Regions from separate parts of the Homo sapiens genome. Here region 1 is linked to region 2. Evidence: promoter capture Hi-C in human tissues and cell types (Jung and others, 2019). All regions are on one chromosome and are shown on one strand. Each heading gives the region's core, a stretch centred on a gene start or on the middle of the fragment in contact. The rest is flanking DNA. Distances are from core to core; before and after follow the strand shown.

Region 1 (3,199 bases), core at 84-2,583, 1.2 Mb after region 2:
GTTAGGTGTTTAAAGAAAGCCGTGCACTCACCACCCCCACTCCCCGATTTTTACCCATTCACTAACACAAGGTTAGAATTTTCCATGCCTAAACTACCATCGTGTGGAAGACAGATCTTTGTGGGAACTGGAACATGATGCTGCATTAACTCTCAAGGATATCCAGTCATTTATAACACCGGCACAACCAACATCCTGGCTTTGTGGATTTGCAAGACAGAAAGCCAGTGAAGAAAAAAATCTGAACTATGAATTTACCTTGAACTGAAAACTGCAGGACAAGGGGACAGTGTTGTCTTGTGGGGATAACTTCTAGCATTTCATTCTGAAGAACAGTTTGTGTGTCACACTGCCACTCTCAACCCCTTTAAAAGGATGAATCAAGACCACAGCACTAAAAGGGACGGGTGGCAGTTGGCTGCGTAATTGGGCCTATGAAAAAAGATCAAGCTAGCAACCAGGGCAATTGATGCTTTCATTTTCCCACACGACGCCAGAAATATGGGAGACATCAGGAACCGGAGCGAAGGGACATGTCAAGTCACCAGTTCCTTTTAATGAACACTCCTGCCGAACCCTTCAGCTCTCGGCCCACTTCCCTCTGATTCCTGCTAACCTTCCCGCTCATTCCAATCCTCTGCAGCCCCTACCCAGCCTTCCGCATCCCTTCCTGCCTGCTACTCACAAATTCCCAACCACTCCTCCCACATTTTCCTCTGTTCCCCCTCCCCTTCCTTCACTTTCCTCCATCCTACATCATTCTCCACTCCATTCCGAACTCAATCCTCATCTGCAATCCTGCAGGCTTCCAAGCCGCCCATCGGTCTCCCGCGAGCTGCCCCCGCAGTCCGGGCCAGCGTCCTCGGTGCCCCTCGCTCCCACGCCTCTTCCCGACTCGGTTCCTTCCCAACGGCACCCGACCTCCCCGCCCCCCGACCGCTCCCGTCCGAGCCTCTCATTTCTGACCCCTCCATCCGCACGGCTCTGGGCTTGACCACTCCTCCACGGCCGCCCGAGGGCCGATCCCGAGAAAGGACGAGGCGGCACCCTCCGCCCCGCACCCCTAGGCCCATTACCGGCCCCGCCGCAGCTGCCTCCTCCCGTGATGGTCTCTGCCGCCCCCGCTGCCGCCGCCGCCCTAGCCCGGTGGGAAGGAGGGAGGAGCGAGCGAGTCCCGGGCCCCGCGGCGACGGCCGGGGAGCTCCCAGGGCGGCAGGGCGGGGAGGGAGGGCGGTGGGCAGCCCAGCCGGCAGGCAGAGAGGGCCGGGCGTCTCCGGCAACTCGGGCGCCCCCGGCAGCAGACGCCCAGAACCGCCCCGGCTCCGGCTAACAATAGGATCCGGCCGCAGCGCACTGGCTCTTATAGGCGCCGGCACGTCCTGACCGAGACCCGGGGCTGGCTGGGAAATGGAGTCTACGGGCCGGCCCACACCCAGCAGCATGCCGGGAGTTGTAGGCGGTAACTGCTGCAAAGCCGAAGCCGGCGCGCAAACCGGCTCCCGAGGCGGCAGCTCTGCTGCAACCTTTTAATGGGGGAAGAGAGGAGACTCAGCTACAGATCTTAAATAAACGAATTCTCCTCCAAAGCTCCCTTTTTCTTTCGTGTCCTGACCACACGCCATTAGGAACATGATCCCCCCTTCTCCTCGCTCATGGGGTCTTAGTCTTCAGCAATATGACTTATTGCAGCCTGCGCAGGTTATAAAGAATACAAGCAATATCTTGAGTTATCTACTTATATGAGGGAGTGCTTTGAGTGTTTTCTTTAAAAAAAAAAAAATTGCTGCCGGGCGCGGTGGCTCACGCCTGTAATCCCAGCACTTTGGGAGGCCGAGGTGGGCGGATCACGAGGTCAGGAGATCGAGACCAACCTGGCTAACAAGGTGAAACCCCGTCTCTACTAAAAAATACAAAAATTAGCCGGGCGTGGTGGCGGGCGCCTGTAGTCCCAGCTACTCGGGAGGCTGAGGCAGGAGAATGGCGTGAACCCGGGAGGCGGAGCTTGCAGTGAGCCGAGATCGCGCCACTGCACTGCAGACTGGGCGAAAGAGCGAGACTCCGTCTCAAAAAAAAAAAAAAAAAAATCTTCTCAACTTTGCAAACTAATTTATTTATTTAAATAGAAAAGGGGTTTTCGCCATGTTGCCCCGGCTGGTCTTGCACTCCTGGGCCCAGGCGATCCGCCCGCCTCGGCCTCCCAAAGTGCTGGGATTATACGCATGAGCCACCGCGCCCTTCCGCAACCTATTTTTAAGAAAGGGCGCCAGGCGCGGTGGCTCATGCCTGTAATCCCAGCACTTTGGGAGGCCGAGGCGGGCGGGTCATGAGGTCAGGAGTTCGAGACCAGCCTGACCAACATGGTGAAACCCTGTCTCTACTAAAAATACAAAAATTAGCCGAGGGTGGTAGCACGTGCCTTTAATCCCAGCTCCTCGGGAGGCCGACCCAGGAGAATGGCTTGAACCCGGGAGGCGGAGGTTGCAGTGAGCCAAGACTGCACCATTGCCCTCCAGCACGGTCAACAAGAGCGAAACTCCGTCTCAAAAAAAAAAAGAAAAAGAAAAAGAAAAAAAAGGGGAAAACCAAGATTAAGAAGTCAAAAGTTGTATGTGATTTGCCAAGGACACATAGCCTTGGTTTCTTCTTTGTTGTCTTTCCCTTGAACTATAAGGCTCGGCAAGCTCGAGCTGCATTCTCTTGTCCCCCGACCCCCACCCCGCCCCCTCATTTTGTTCTGTCATCTTGTTTGCTTCTACTTTCCCCCTTCCATACTCTGCTTGAATACACTGGCCTCATTGCAGCTCCTTCAACTGGGCAATCATTCTCTTACCTCAGGGCCTTTTGTCTGGCTTCCACCAGCTAGCCACATACTTACTCCCTCACATAATATCTGCTCGAATGTCCCCATATCCGAGATCTTCCCTAACCATATTTCTTTTTCCCTGCATTAAGAGACAGGATTTCACTCTGTCACCCAGGCTGGAGTGCAGTGGCGCAATCACGGCTCACAGCAGCCTCAAACTCCCGGGCACAAATGCCTAACCATATTTCTAAAATGGTGCTTCTCCTTAGTTTCTATCCCTGTGCCTTATATTTCTTCTTAGCATCCACGTATTTGTTTTTGTCTTGTCTCACTTGACTAAATTCGGTGAGAGCAAGGAATTGTTTTGTTTACTGTATCCTCAACACACAGTACAAA
Region 2 (3,364 bases), core at 513-3,012:
TTGTTTTATCAAGCGCAAGCATTTTTTTTCCCTTTCCTGACTACAAAGATCCACAAGAAAAAGCATTTTTTAAAAACTGCAAAACAGAAAGCTCCATAAACGTACAGCCAGGTTTGGGAACCACTACCCTAGTTAGCTGCCAACTATGTCTTTACCTCTCATGTGTATACTACTCTCAACTTTAAAATCTCTGGTGGTTTCCTAATGCCTTTCGTGAAATCCCAAGCCTTAACCTCAGTCTCTCTTTTCCATTGTTTTTACCCTCTGACTTCCCGTATCATCACAGCGGAGAAATTTTGCAGGGGACACAGGACATCAACCCATCTCCTCATTCCAGTCTTTGAGACTGTATCCAAATGTCCCCTTCCTACTATCATCTGAGTCCCACAAGGTCTGAAGTCGTCCCCCAAAGTCTCTTCTGTAAAAGGACAGCAACGTAACAGAATTGTCCCCCGCCCTCCAGATGCTGGACTGGAGTGATGGAGGGAGCGCAGAGAGGGTACTAACTTTTGAAGCATTTGCCGTGGTAAGTTCAGACTGCCTGCTAGTGTAGAATATCCCAGTGGCTACAAATAGGTGTGGGAGAGACATTTCCTTATTTTGCATGTGGTTTGATTATAATCATATGCCTAAGAATAGTTTGCAGCAAGAAGAGTGGCAGTGCCGCCCTTCTCCATTCCCTTGGGCAAAATGCTTTATTTGCTTCTCGATCCTCTCCACTGTACTCTGTCAACTCACTGTTTTGTTTTGTTTTTGAGACGGAGTCTCGCTCTGTCGCCCAGGCTGGAGTGCAGTGGCACTAGCTCGGCTCACTGCAAGCTCCGCCTCCCGGGTTCACGCCATTCTCCTGCCTCAGCCTCCGGAGTAGCTGGACTACAGGCGCCCGCCACCACGACCGGCTAATTTTTTGTATTTTTAGTAGAGACGGGGTTTCACCGTGTTAGCCAGGATGGTCTCGATCTCGTGACCTTGTGATCCACCCGCCTCGGCCTCCGAAAGTGCTGGGATTACAGGCGTGAGCCAGCGCGCCCGGCCTACTCACTTTTTTTGAAATAAACATGCAGGTCCCAGGGTCTGTCCTGCACTGTATAGCACACATGAGTCTCAATATCAGGCATGATTCTGTCACCCTTGGCTCTTCTCTCCCAGTAAACCAAACCTAACCCCATGTTCCCAAACGTGTGTCTCTGGAAGCCCCCTCTCCCCAGCCAAAGCGCCAGGCACGCTGGACAGAGGCCACCCTAGATACAAGGACCGTTCCCACCTGGGGTCTGGCCCTGAAAGAAAAGTGGGAACGTAGTCGACAAGGACTCCTCTCCAAGAGAGATTCCTAAGACAGATGGTGGAACCCTGGCGGGCAGGCAGCAGCGGCACTGGCTCAGTCAAAGCCACGCTTTATACTCGTTTTGGGAAAGTTTCGATGGGTGTTAGCCCAGGCCAGAACCACAGTGGATGTGTAGGCAGCCAACCACTTGGCTCCGGATGCTCCAATCCCTCCCCTGTCACTCACCCCGGAGTTACACCCCACGTCGAGCCCCAGAATCGGCCCGTTCTCGGGACTCTCAGGAAAGAGCTGTCGAAGCAGCTCCGGGGGCAGGAGGCGGAGCCGTTGCTCCGGAGGGTGGAAGCGAGAATAATGAGGAAAATTTCCGAACGGGGCGGCGCCAGGTGCCAGAACTCGCGATTCCTCTTCCGCTGCGGTCTCCTTAACACTCCCTCCATCCAGTTCCGTGGGCACCGCCATTAGCCTCAACACAGCCTCTGGGCCGTGGCGGAACCGGAAGCCGGGAACCTGCTGTCGGCGTGGGCGGTGGCGGTGCCAGCGCGCGTGCGTCGAACGGCTAGGGCGGGTGGCTAGAATTCTGCGGTGAATCAGAAAAGCTGTCCTGATTTCCTCTCGCTGTATACCTGGAGCCGGCGAGCGCCTGGGGCTTGCCTTGTATTATTGAACCCTCATCACAACACTGGGAGGGGATTAGCAATATCATCCACGTTTTACAGGGATGAAACAAACTCTGAGGGCTAAGTGTCTTGGCCAAGCTGACATAGTTTGAAACTTGGGCTACTTGACCCAGAACAAGTATACTAGTTTGTTGGGATCTTGGAAATCAATTTTAGTCCAATTTCCTTTCTTTATAAATGCAAAAAGTGAGACCGAGAGAACTTACTTGTCTGGGGTCATACATTGAATCTGTGACTCAAAAACTTCCACCCGGTTCAGGAAAGGGTAGCCAGGAGGTGCAGGTCACTTGCGAAGCCAGCCGACTCAGCCCTGTCCCCCAGGGGCAACTGTAGACCATGAGCTCCTTGAGAGGCAAGGACCGTGCCTTAAGAGCCAGCACTTAAAGAGTGCTTACCAGGCACCAGACACCCTTGTAAGCTCCTTAGTCAATCCTCTCACCCCGTGAGAAAATGACCGTATTATTATTCTTTTTATATAGATGAGGACACTGGAGTAAAACAAAGTAACTTGTCCAAGATCCCACAGTTAGAAATGATGGTACTAGGATTCGAACCCAGGGAGTTTGGATCCAGAGGATGTGCTTGCAACGGTGTGTTATTCTCAGCCTTGAGTCTCCTATACTTAACATGGGCCTGGCACAAAGATGCTCAACAAATGTTGTTGAATGAAAACTCAATAGAGAATACAATAAGGCCAGATCTGTTTGGGGAAACTTTAAATGGAAGGGAGAAAGGATGCCAACTGAAGCAGACATAGTGGAATGGAGTTGGGCAAGATGTGACTCAGAGATTGGAAATAACAGAGCTGATAAGGAGAGGAACTGAAGGGTCAACCTAGGTAGCAGGTTCCAGTCAAAAGCCAGGATGGCCCAGAATATCCGTCAGGGTCAACCAAGCATCAGCAGAGTTGTGCAGGACCCCCAACCCCACCCCTGCACCTGGCCCACCCATCTTAAAGGGGTATCCTGCTCCATGAGGCTGGCAGTTCGGTAAACTTCTTATAAGGCACTGGAGCATGACTCCTGCAAACAGTACCATCAGGAGTTAAAATAAGCGCTGTTTTCCTCTCAGTTTTTACTTTATATTTTCTTTTTCTTTTCTCCTTTTTTTGAGATAGAGTCTCACACTATTGCCTGGGCTGGAGTGCAATGACATGATCTCGGCTCACTGCAACCTTTGCCTCCCAGGTTCAAGTGATTCTCCTGCCTCAGCCTCCCAAGTAGCTGGAATTACAGGCACCCGCCACCATTCCTGGCTAAGTTTTTGTATTTTTTAGTAGAGACGGGGTTTCACTATGTTGGCCAGGCTGGTCTCGAACTCCTGACCTCGTGATCTGCCCACCTCGGCCTCCCAAAGTGTTGGGATTACAGGCGAGAGCCACCACGCCCAGCCTTTATATTTT

The links. The method cuts DNA at HindIII sites, captures the fragments that hold promoters and counts their contacts. A contact is called where the count stands out against the background at its distance.
Region 1: the fragment with the promoter of CSRNP2 here is called in contact with the fragment with the promoter of BCDIN3D in region 2 in 1 of the 25 tissues and cell types used here (IMR-90 fibroblasts).

What each region holds. Positions count from the first base shown.
Region 1 is chr12:51,082,263-51,085,461 of GRCh38, forward strand. It overlaps CSRNP2 (cysteine and serine rich nuclear protein 2), which reads right to left and starts at 1,334. Exons shown (of 5, transcript NM_030809.3): 1 at 1,077-1,334. RefSeq lists a silencer at 896-1,385 and an enhancer at 1,759-2,385. The HindIII fragment of the contact is 9,557 bases long and covers 1-3,199 here.
Region 2 is chr12:49,841,344-49,844,707 of GRCh38, forward strand. BCDIN3D (BCDIN3 domain containing RNA methyltransferase) reads right to left here and starts at 1,763. Exons shown (of 2, transcript NM_181708.3): 1 at 1,511-1,763. The coding sequence starts at 1,744. RefSeq lists enhancers at 1,106-1,475, 2,046-2,105. The HindIII fragment of the contact is 12,873 bases long and covers 1-3,364 here.